3 separate regions of the Homo sapiens genome follow, and all the other regions are linked to region 1. The links are contacts of gene promoters, found by promoter capture Hi-C in blood cells and fetal thymus (Javierre and others, 2016). All regions are on one chromosome and are shown on one strand. The core of a region is centred on a gene start or on the middle of the fragment in contact, and the rest is flanking DNA. Distances in the headings are between cores, read along the strand shown. Region 1 holds the start of KLRF1 (killer cell lectin like receptor F1). Region 2 holds the start of CLEC1B (C-type lectin domain family 1 member B). Region 3 holds the start of KLRB1 (killer cell lectin like receptor B1).

Region 1 (3,755 bases), core at 667-3,166:
AAAAATCCATAAAAAATGAAGAAAAGGAATCTAACTAGGTATTGTTAGTGTCTTCACTATAGAGAGAGGAATTACTTAAAGTGATTTTAAAACATTTAACTGTGCATGCTCAATGGAATATATCTTAAGGATTTTTTAAAACCGCAAAACATTTTAATCTGTTTTAAGTAACTATTATTATAATATTATTTCTATAGTGATTCTGAAACTACTACATATGTATAGTGGGATAGAGCAATTATGTAATTTCTTACTATCACTGGCAACAAAGGTTTTTCAATATATGAGAAAAGATTTACAAATATGTCATCACAAAATTAAGTTAAATGAATGAACATCATAACCCCAAGGCTCACATTGTCAATCTAATTCACATAAAATACGTCTTACCTCAAGCTTTAATAAATATTAGCTAAAGGTACAAGACATAAATATTAGTATGTGTCACTTAAATATCTGGGAGCCGAAAATCTGCACATTTTTGCTTCAGAGAGACATTTATGAACAGAGTGTGGAAAAAAGTCTGCAGAGAAGTCACTACATGTTGTAGTCTTTCAGGTTTAATATCTCTAATTTCCAAAAATGAAATAAAAATTGAGTGTAGGAAGTAAAGACTTGAAAATATGGGAATCTAAAAATTCACATGGAAGAGGCAATAAATTTCTTATACATAGCACGTATGTAACTCTAAGATGAATCACTGATGGATGATACTTGTGGAAGGACTCAAGAGATAAGTAAAATTTTCATGGGTGAAGTTATTAAAAGAGAAATATTTAGAAAGCAACAGAACAGAACAGACAGTCTCTATAACTGTGATTATTTGTGTCTTTAATTTCTGCTTATCTCTTTTGCCAAATCACATTAAGGTGGCATGATGGAATTGCATTGTGTATGGAGGGTATGCTTGAAGTAGCAAATTAAAATGTTGATTGCTGGTGTATAAACTTTATTTTGAGTCAACTTGGTGAAAAGCATAAAGTTTTTGAGAAGTTGAATTAAAAATTAGTATTAAAGGCTGGGCGCGGTGGCTCATGCCTATAATCCCAACACTTTGGAAGACTCAGGTGGGTGGATCACCTGAGGTCAGGAGTTCAAGACCAGCCTGGCCAACATGGTAAAACCCCATCTCTACTAAAAACGCAAAAAATTAGCCAGGCATGGTGGCGGGCACCTATAATCTCAGCTACTCAGGAGGCTGAGGCAGGAGAATTGCTTGAACCTGGGAGGCAGAGGTTGCAGTGAGCCGAGATCATGCCATTGCACTCCAGCCTGGGCAACAACAGTGAAACTCCGTCTCAAAAAAAAAAAATAGCATTAAAACACCATATTCTATGAATGATAAGGAGGTGAATGGCAGCAAATATTCACTAATTTGAAATTATTAATTTTAATTGAGTATGCATATTTCCTCAGAGAATGTCCTTAAGAAATTATATCAGACAAAATATTACAAGTAAGTGTTAGTTCCACATTGATAAATGGGAGAGAGAGAGATTATCTCATAGTAAATTTGTAAGATTAAATGAAGGAACATAGATAAAACATTCTGTATAGTGCCGGAAACTGGTGTTTCTTAAATGGTAAGAGAGGTTGTTATTTTTAAATCATTATTAATATTGAAAGAGAGGACAGGTGAGAGAGATACAGAGACGGAGAAAGAAAAGCACCCAAATACTGAAACAGTCCAATAACACAATGGAACAGGATACGGGAAACTACCATGTTAATTCACACCAATTGAAAAAATGAAATTAAATTCCATACCTTTAAATGTAAGTTGAGATGTTTGGGCAGAACTCCTTTTCTTTGACTGTACATTCAATGTCATGTATCTTTCTTCATCTTGCATCTTCAATGTGAGTGAATGTGTGTGTATACAGGTATGTTTTGTTTTATTAAGTATAACATGAAATGAGGAAAGAATAATAAATCTGCTGCTAATCAGAGATGCTCCTCAAATTGTCCTTTCACAGTACATATGAGGGTTCACAGTTTCACTTATTTGTGAAAACCTCAGAGGAAATGTTTTCTTTTTAAAAGTTGCTTTCCCATGACATAGATAACACATAATTTCTCAACTGTCCACCACATATTGAATTGAATATTCTTTTGAGTGCTTTACAAATTTCTCTTAATTTACCCTTAAAGTCAAGGGAATGGAAATTATGCCCCTTTTTGAGGTGAGGTTAATAATATATAGCTGCCTTTTGTTATAGCCTAAATATTTATATCATTTGAATTAGCCTCCCTAACATATTGATATTTAATTTAATAATTTGCAATTGCCAAGCAATTAAATTCTTTATCCTAAAACAATATTGTTTATAAATCATGCTAATAATTTAACAGTATAATTTGATTTTTTTTAACTTTTAGGTTCAGGGCTACATGTGTAGGTTTGTTATATAGGTAAAATCATGTCACAGGGGTTTGTTGTACATATTATTTCATCACCCAGGTATTCAGACTAGTACTACATAGTTATGTTTTTCTGATCCTGCCCCTCCTCTCACCCTCCACCTTCAAGTAGGCTCCGGTGTCTGTCATTCTCCTCTATGTGTACATGTGTTCTCATCATTTAGATCCCAATTATTAGTGAGAACATGTGGTATTTGGTTTTCTGTTCCTCCATTAGTTTGTTAAGGGTAACGGCCTCTAGCTTCATCTATGTTCCTGCAATGGACATCATCTCATTCTTTTTTATAGCTGCATAGTATTCCTTTGTATATGTGTATCACATTTTCTTTATCCAGTCTACCATTGATGGGCATTTAGGTTGATTGCATGTCTTTGCTATTGTCAACAGTGCTGCCATGAACAGATGCATGCATGTGTCTTTATGATAGATTTATATTCCTTTGGGTATATACCAGTAATGGGATTGCTGGGTCAAATTTCTGGTTTTAGGTCTTTAAGGAATCACCATGCTATCTTTCATAATGGTTGAACTAATTTACACTCCCATCAAAGGTGTATAAGTGAACCCTTTTCTCCACTACCTCATCAGCATCTGTTATTTTTTGACTTTTTAATAATAGCCATTCGACTGGTATGAGATGGTATCTTACTGTGGTTTTAATTTGCATTTCCCTAATGATTAGTGCCTACTGGAGGATAGAGGGTGGGAAGAGGGAAAGGATCAGGAAAAATAACTAATGGGTACTAGGGTTAATACCTGGGTGAAGAAATAATCTTTACAGCAAACCCCCATTACACAAGTTTACCTATGTAACAAATTTGCACATGTACTCCCAAATTTAAAATAAAATTTTAAAAACACAATATACCCTTTTAAATAAGATAAACTATTAATTCAAGGAGAAAATATTTGACAAATTATCAGAAATATATTTGTTGCTTAATGACAAAAGTAAAAGGATAATACATTTTTGTGTTATTTTTGTTTATTTTTACTTGCTAAATTTTGTTCTTTAATTTATAATTACAATTTCTTTGGCCATTATTTGACACTCCAAATGGATAAGAAGTAAATTAAGATTGATAAATAAAACACGAAAAGTATCTGTTCATGTCCTTAGTCCACTTTTTAATGGGGTTGTTTATTTTTTGCTTGTTGATTGGTTTAAGTTTCTTACAGATGCTGGATATTAGACCTTTGTCAAATGCATAGTCTGCAAAAATTTTCTCCCATTCTGTAGATTATCTGTTCACTCTGTTGATAGTTTCTCTTGCTGTGCAGAAGCTCTTACAGTTAATTATTTTGTTTGTTTGTTTTGTTTTGTTTCACTTTT
Region 2 (3,899 bases), core at 254-2,753, 170 kb before region 1:
GAATGTGGAAACCTCAACAAAGCAATCTAATTGTTCTCTTTAATACCATCTTAAAGTTTTTGTTAATAAACAAAAAATGTTTACAATAATTTAAAAATTGTCTCAATGTCCTTGGATCTTACCTTTACATATCTGATTTAATGTAACAAATTAAGTTTTCATATGTACCTGTTTGGTACCTAAGAGAACAGAGTAAAGCTTTATTGGAAAAGTGTCATTTGTACTATAACCTCCACACATTTTCTTTTCTCTCTGTTACTTTGTCACAGTTATTTATTCGATTATTTTTTAGTGTTTCTGTATATTTTAGGTAACAAAACACTGAAGGAAAGCAGTGACCAAAAGAACGTGAAAGACAGGGGTTACTGTGACAGAATAGCCTCAGGACTTGCTGATGAGTAGATGTAGAAAGGAAGGAAGAGAGGGAGGATCAAACCCCATTCCAACCCCAATCTTCCAGAAAAGCCTGAGGATAAATGATGGGAGAGCGAAGAATCCCTTTTAGCTGAAACAGAAGTTATGAGAACAGAAGCAGTGGTAGATGAATGGTAAGTGACTGAATTTACCCAGCTTATGATTGGGAACCCCTGAATATTTTAACTGAGATAAGAAACACAGCAACAAAAATGGTGTTGGGATTTAATGTTTTTTAAAAATTTTTAGTCTTTTCTTAAAATTTGGCATTTATTTCAAATGTGTTTTTTTTTAATTAAGAATTAGTTTTGGTAAAAATATTTGAATCATACTAAGTTTGGCTTTCCAAAATCAGGGAATGTCTTTTATACGTGTTATGCTTATTCTTCACCTCATTCTCAAAATAATTTGAAGAGTATAGAGAAAGAAATTTAGAATGAAAGATAATTTTAAGTGAATTGACAAGAAATTCAGAGTGAAGGAGATAGCAGGGGAGAAAAAATCTACGGGCTATGCCAAAGGGCATGTTAATAAACAAAATATCTGCTACTGCAGCCCACATAATCACTATATTGAAAAGTCTAACACTCTGCTAAGTAAAGAAAAATAGAATTCAAATTATTTATAAGGTAAATGCCTACTACTTAAAGCTTTGCTAGTCATGGTGATTTAACAAAAATAAAAATCTGCCATAAAACTATGTAAGAGTTACCCTATGGCAAAATAGACAACATCCTCCCCAATATTCCTATAATAAATGCATCAGCTAGCTTTGTATGGCTGTTCTTACAACTACTTTCAGTGCAAGCTAAAATAATGTAAAAGCCCATTTCATAAAGTTAAGTGTGTGCAATACATATTATATTGTGATGAAAAGGTGCTAGGAACCATTCAGTCTCAAATATTCATCTAAGCACAGCTGTACTTGAAATGAAGTGATTTCATCAAATCAAAATTCTTCCATTCCAGGAAACTCACTTTAAAGCACAAACACTACTAAAGAACAATGCAGCAAGTCACCAACTCTGTATTATTTTACTTGATTTGATAGTTTTCCTTCAATACCTAAATCTAAGCAATATCAGGCCTGCCTCATGTGGATCCTTCAAATAAAAAAAAGTATGAAATATGCAAGAAGTTGTGTAAATTCTAGGTCATAATCAGGAATGATCTCTTCCAACACAAGACTATGAAACAGCTAATTTAGCCCCTATCAGATCCAATTATATTACACTTGCTTCTCACAATGAGATAAACTATATATCTGCTGGTGAGCTATATCCATGAATTTTCAGCAGAAATCTCTCATTTGAGCAATGTAATTTAGACTAAGCTAGGGCTAAGATAAAGCATGAACTTTTGTTCTTAGAAAGGATGCACATGATGGAATGTCCCTTTATTTAGTGTTGAAGATAAAAAAAAAGCAGGAAGCAAATACCTTATCTACTCCTTTACCACAAGTTATTATTATTTTTGTGTTTTTGTGTTCAAGGTCCATGTATCTCTGAGCAGCTATGAAGAAGCTTCCTGGAAAACAATAAGCAAAGGAAAACAAATGTGTCCCATCTCACATGGTTCTACCCTACTAAAGACAGGAAGATCATAAACTGACAGATACTGAAATTGTAAAGTTGGAAACTACATTTTGCAAAGTCATTGAACTCTGAGCTCAGTTGCAGTACTCGGGAAGCCATGCAGGATGAAGATGGATACATCACCTTAAATATTAAAACTCGGAAACCAGCTCTCATCTCCGGTAAGAATGCTCAGAGCCAATAATTTGGAAATTAATTTAAAAAATGAGTTGATTCAATTCTTTCTTTTTCTACTATTGATAATATATATAGTTTAATTTCTTTTTCTTGAATGATGTTAATGCTCTAAAGCATTTGAGTAGTGTTTTCATAAGCTCATACAGACCTATTTAGATTACAAACATCCAATATATGTGCAGGGAAAATTGCATTAAGATTCTGAGCGTTTAATACTCGAGGGCATAGAAGTCAAGGGGATAACGGAAAAGAGTGGAAATTTCATTTTCTATATGTGAGCAAATGAGTGTGATTCTTCATTTGCTGTTTATTAAAGCAATTATTTATGGCATGGGTGAGCATAAAACAAAACAAAACAAAACAAAACAAAACAAAAAATACAAACACATCAGGCCTTAACAGCAAGTAATATTTCAGCTTGGAGAGGTAAAGTGCATTGGAGATGAGAATGGATGTATGGTATAGGGGTGGGCCATGCCTATTGTTGATGATCATGAGGAGAACACAGGTGAGATCTGCCAGCAAAGCTCTTTCTATTACTTGGAGGACCCTGAGAAGGCAGGGGCAGGGGCAGGGGTGAGCCTTCCCCATAGCTAACCCATACTGCCTGCTCCTTGATGTCTTTATTATATGCCTACAGTTGGCTCTGCATCCTCCTCCTGGTGGCGTGTGATGGCTTTGATTCTGCTGATCCTGTGCGTGGGGATGGTTGTCGGGCTGGTGGCTCTGGGGATTTGGTGTAAGTGTTGACTCTGCCAGAAATTTGACTGGAGGAAGGTAATACTGAAGGGTCATGGCATATCCCACTAAGCTTCTCAATGGTCGCTATTTGTCTGTTTATCACTTCTACAGTTGTCCTACAGATAGTTGCCAAGAGAATCTCAATAAAGGAGAACACTGACTGTTTCCTTGTGATTAAAATAAGATTTTAAGATTTTAACTAATGAAAAGTTATTTTTAAGAATGTACTACTGGCCTTTAAGACCCTCCTCAGTGTGGATCCAAACTATTTTTAAAAACTTTTTCATCCCTTTTCCTATCTTGCATTCCTAAGAACCAGCCAAACTGGAGTTTTTCAATTTCATATATAAATTCCATGTTCCCTTGTCTGAAATTTTTCTCATTCTATTCTCTCTACCTAAAATTTTCTGTTTCTCATTTTGTTTACTAAGTTACTGTGCATTTCTTCTTTCTGTAATTCTCATGGCCCTCCAATAGCACATTGAAGTCTGTGTAGTTGTTGCTTGTTTGTGTATTTGTTGATTTTTTTAAAAGATGTTAGAATCTAACATTTATCCTCTTGTATTTCTTTATTATTTACCTGAATATCACAAGTACTTTAAGCATAACAAGAAATCAGTATGTATTTTTAAATGAATGAATAGTTTGGCATCACAGAAAGAACAGAAAATAAGAGGTCATTCACCTCTATAACTCAGCTGAGAAGCTTGTATTCAAGCAAATGAATACAGGCTCTGGGGATGTTATCGATGTTGGGATTTTTTATTTGTGATTGTCTCCTTCAAACAGTTCACTTATTAACCCTCAGGCGTCAGTTCTGTGTATTTCTTAATTTGTTCTTTATAGCCCCTCCACACTTTTCAACATTCATTTAATCATGTGTATCTAGTAAACTCCTCATATATTGGCAAAGTTAAGGAAATGAAAATTCAATGACAGACCTTTGCATCATTTCTATGGTTCTAATTACAA
Region 3 (3,812 bases), core at 445-2,944, 220 kb after region 1:
AAATTGACCAATGGGATCTAACTAAATTAAAGAGCTTCTGCACAGCAAAAGAAACTACCATCAGAGTGAACAGACAACCTACAGAATGGGAGAAAATTTTTACAATCTACCCATCTGACAAACGGCTAATATCCAGAATCTACAAAGAACTTACATAAATTTACAAGAAAAAATCAACCAACCCCATCAAAAAATGGGCAAAGGATATGAACAGACACTTCTCAAAAGAAAACATTTATGCAGGCAACAGACACATGAAAAAATGCTCATCATCACTGGCCATCAGAGAAATGCAAATCTAAACCACAATGAGATACCATCTCACACCAGTTAGAATGACAGTCATTAAAAAGTCAGGAAAAAACAGGTGCTGGAGAGGATGTGGAGAAATAGGAACACTTTTACACTGTTGGTGGGACTCTAAACTAGTTCAACCATTGTGGAAGACAGTGTGGCGATTCCTCGAGGGACTAGAACTAGAATTTGACCCAGCCATCTCATTACTGGGTATATACCCAAAGGATTATAAATCACGCTGCTATAAAGACACATGCACACATATGTTTATTGTGGCACTATTCACAATAGCAAAGACTCGTGAACCATCCCAAATGTCTATCAATGATAGACTGGATTAAGAATATATGGCACATATGCACCATGGAATAGTATGCAGCCATAAAAAAGGATGAGTTCATGTCCTTTGTAGGGACATGGATGAAGCTGGAAACCATCATTCTGAGCAAACTATTGCAAGGACAGAAAACCAAACACCGCATGTTCTCACTCATAGGTTGGAATTGAACAATGAGAATATTTGGACACAGGGAGGGGAACACCACACACCGGGGCCTGTCGTGGGGTGGGGGGAGGGGGGAGGGATAGCATTAGGAGATATACCTAATGTAAATGACAAGTTAACGGGTGCAGCACACCAACATGGCACATGTATACATATGTAACAAACCTGTACATTGTGAACTTAAAGTATAATAATAATAAAAAAAGGTAAAAAAAAAAAAGTAGACACATACTATAATCACCTTGAAAAAAAAAGAAAGTCTTTCAAAGAGATAAAAAATTCCATATACTCCACTTCCTACAATTCTGGCAGTTTCCAAATACTTTTACTTATGTGAAAATGCTATCATATCCAAGAGTGCCTTTAGAGCTAAGCTAACAGTAGGCTACTGATCTTTAGCACATTGCTTTTTCTGTTGTGTTATTCAGGGGGCTTTCTCACATTTATGTTTCCATTTTTCACATTTCACAACTTTCTTTGGAGCACAGATATTTCAGGAAGATTTTAGAGCCTTTGAATAGCATTATGGACTTTTTTGCATTAATTTTTACTTTTACAAAATTGTGCTAAATATTATTTCTGTTAATTAGTGAGTTTTGTTGGGGGCCCCTTAAATTGGAACCCCAGGCTATGCCTCATTTGCTTCACTCTGGTCCTGGCCCTGAGAGAGGAACACAAAAGGGATGGTTAGAAAAACAAGAACAAATGAGCCTCCCAGAATTTTCTCAAACAACAGGCCAGTTAATTAAGGAAAGTAGATATTACATAGCTAGGTATAATGAACATGCAGTCAGTGGATTGTCTCAGTAATTTATGGAGATAACCACCAACAAAAAGTGTATGTGGGTGGGGACAAAAGAGAGACAACAAAGTACTGCAGGCAGAAAGCTTCCTTTTGCTGATTTTGCCTCACAGAATTGAGAGTTTGTTCTTACACACAAGTTTAATGCCACCTTCCTCTGTCTGCCATGGACCAACAAGCAATATATGCTGAGTTAAACTTACCCACAGACTCAGGCCCAGAAAGTTCTTCACCTTCATCTCTTCCTCGGGGTAAGTGGCTTTAATTTTCCTTTCGGCATTTGTATGTCTTCCAGAATTAGATCTTCCTGTTACATTTATGGCTTTAAATCATTGCTTTAAAGATGAGCAGTAGTTTTATATTAATGTTTAACGGGTGTTGCATGGCTTGCCTGTAGATAATCACAACTTTGGGAAAAAAAATTTAAACCTCATACATTTATTTTTTTCAATCAAGTTAGCATGAAAAGCAAACATCACTTGTCTTACTGAGCCTTGGTTAAAAGACTCTGAACACTTTAGGCTACCCTGGGCACACTGCCTATTGGTTACCCCTGCTCTACAGGGATGGAAAGAAGGAAGAAAGAAAGAAAGAAAGAAAAGAAAGAAAGAAAGAAAGAAAGAAAGAAAGAAAGAAAGAAAGAAAGAAAGGAAGAAAGAAAGAAAGAAAGGAAAGAAAGAGAAAGAAAAGAAGAAAGAAAGAAAGGAGAGAAAGAAAAAGAAAGAGAGAGAAAGGAAAGGAAAGAAAGAAAAAGAGAAGGAGGAAGGAAGGAAGGATGGAAGGAAGGAAGGAAAAATATTTTACATGTATGAACTAAGGAATATTTAAGACACATTGCAAACTTGCTGTAATAACAACCTACGTTATTCCAAATTCCTCTACAAAATATCAATACTATGATTAAGTCCCAGTGCATTTTCATCCATAATATTCCTTTCAGAATACAACGTGTAGGCCAGTTGCAGTGGCTCATGCCTGTAATCCCAACACTTTGGTAGGCTAAGGTGATTTGCTTGAGTCCAGGAGTTTAAGGCCAGCCTGGGCAATGTGGCAAAACCTCATCTCTACAAACAATACAAAAAAATAGCCAAGTGTGGGGCACGTGCCTGTGGTCCTAGCTACTCGGGAGGCTGAGGTGAGAGGATTGCTTGAGCCCAAGAGATCAAGGCTGCAGTGAGCTGTAATTGTGCCACTGTACTCCAGCCTGGGTGACACAGCAAGACTATCTCAAAAAAAAAAAAAAAATATATATATATATATATATATATATACTTTTTATACATATATTTTATATATTTTATATATATATATATACTTTTTATACATATATTTTATATATTTTATATATATATATATAAAGTGTAGGCTTAATGAGTAACATACTTCACTCTCTCAAGAGAGGGGAACACTTTCTGGAAAAAAAATCATATTCAAGATCAAAGATTTGAATATCATTACTACCTGATAGTTTCTAGTTTGAAAAGTATCACAGCTTAGAAAGAGACAAGCCACAAAAATACTCGAGCATATCAGTAACGAACCTACTTACCATTTGTTGAAACTGGCACTTTCCTGTGTCTCTGAAGAGTTAGCATTCTGAGTGAAAGAAGCGGGGAACACCAATGTGAGGTAACACATGATGGATAGCATGGCCTGTGGATGGATGGGAAGAAACTAGAAACTGAGGCAGAAAATCAGCATGAAATTATTATGACACATTATTATTTTCTGATATCTAACTGAATTTACTATCATTGATAATATTACAATTGTTTACCAATCTGATATTCATTCCATGTCATGCCAAGCATTTGACTTGTGCTGTTTTAAGACTGTTTAAGTTTTAAACTATTGAATTCTCAAAGTTTTAAGTCAAGAAGAAAGTCTTAGAGCCGTCAATTAAGTTTCAGTATAATTTTCACATAAGAGTAGAGGAAATCAGAGGGTTCTAATAACTATAGGGAGGATTTGGTTGAGTAACATTTTTTTTTAAAGAAAAGAGTAAGTCTTTCTTTTCCTCTATTCATATCTAGCAAAAGGTGGAAAGTGGGCTTTTGTCAGAAAATGAATATAGAGGTAGTGAGACTCTTCCCAAATGTTGCTATGATCCCAAACCAATGGATGCAGAAATTTTTTCTACTTGGATTGTAATAATTATCCTATAAAATGTCATTCTGAGAGTAAACCTGAAGAAAAAATAAGAGTAGA

The links. Contacts are between HindIII fragments. The CHiCAGO score rates a contact against its expected background, and 5 or more counts as called.
Region 2: a fragment that was not itself captured here is called in contact with the fragment with the promoter of KLRF1 in region 1 in 1 of 17 cell types (activated CD4 T cells); the score reaches 7.2 in activated CD4 T cells.
Region 3: a contact is called between the fragment with the promoter of KLRB1 here and the fragment with the promoter of KLRF1 in region 1, in 2 of 17 cell types (naive B cells and activated CD4 T cells). The highest score is 6.0, in naive B cells.

The regions. Positions count from the first base shown.
Region 1 is chr12:9,825,642-9,829,396 of GRCh38, reverse strand. KLRF1 (killer cell lectin like receptor F1) reads right to left here and starts at 1,916. Exons shown (of 6, transcript NM_016523.3): 1 at 1,768-1,916. The coding sequence starts at 1,852. The HindIII fragment of the contact is 7,114 bases long and covers 399-3,755 here.
Region 2 is chr12:9,997,308-10,001,206 of GRCh38, reverse strand. CLEC1B (C-type lectin domain family 1 member B) reads left to right here and starts at 2,086. Exons shown (of 6, transcript NM_016509.4): 1 at 2,086-2,170; 2 at 2,827-2,925. The coding sequence starts at 2,107. It also overlaps a transcript of CLEC12A not described here. The HindIII fragment of the contact is 873 bases long and covers 1,067-1,939 here.
Region 3 is chr12:9,605,798-9,609,609 of GRCh38, reverse strand. KLRB1 (killer cell lectin like receptor B1) reads left to right here and starts at 1,694. Exons shown (of 6, transcript NM_002258.3): 1 at 1,694-1,855. The coding sequence starts at 1,771. The HindIII fragment of the contact is 4,730 bases long and covers 1,693-3,812 here.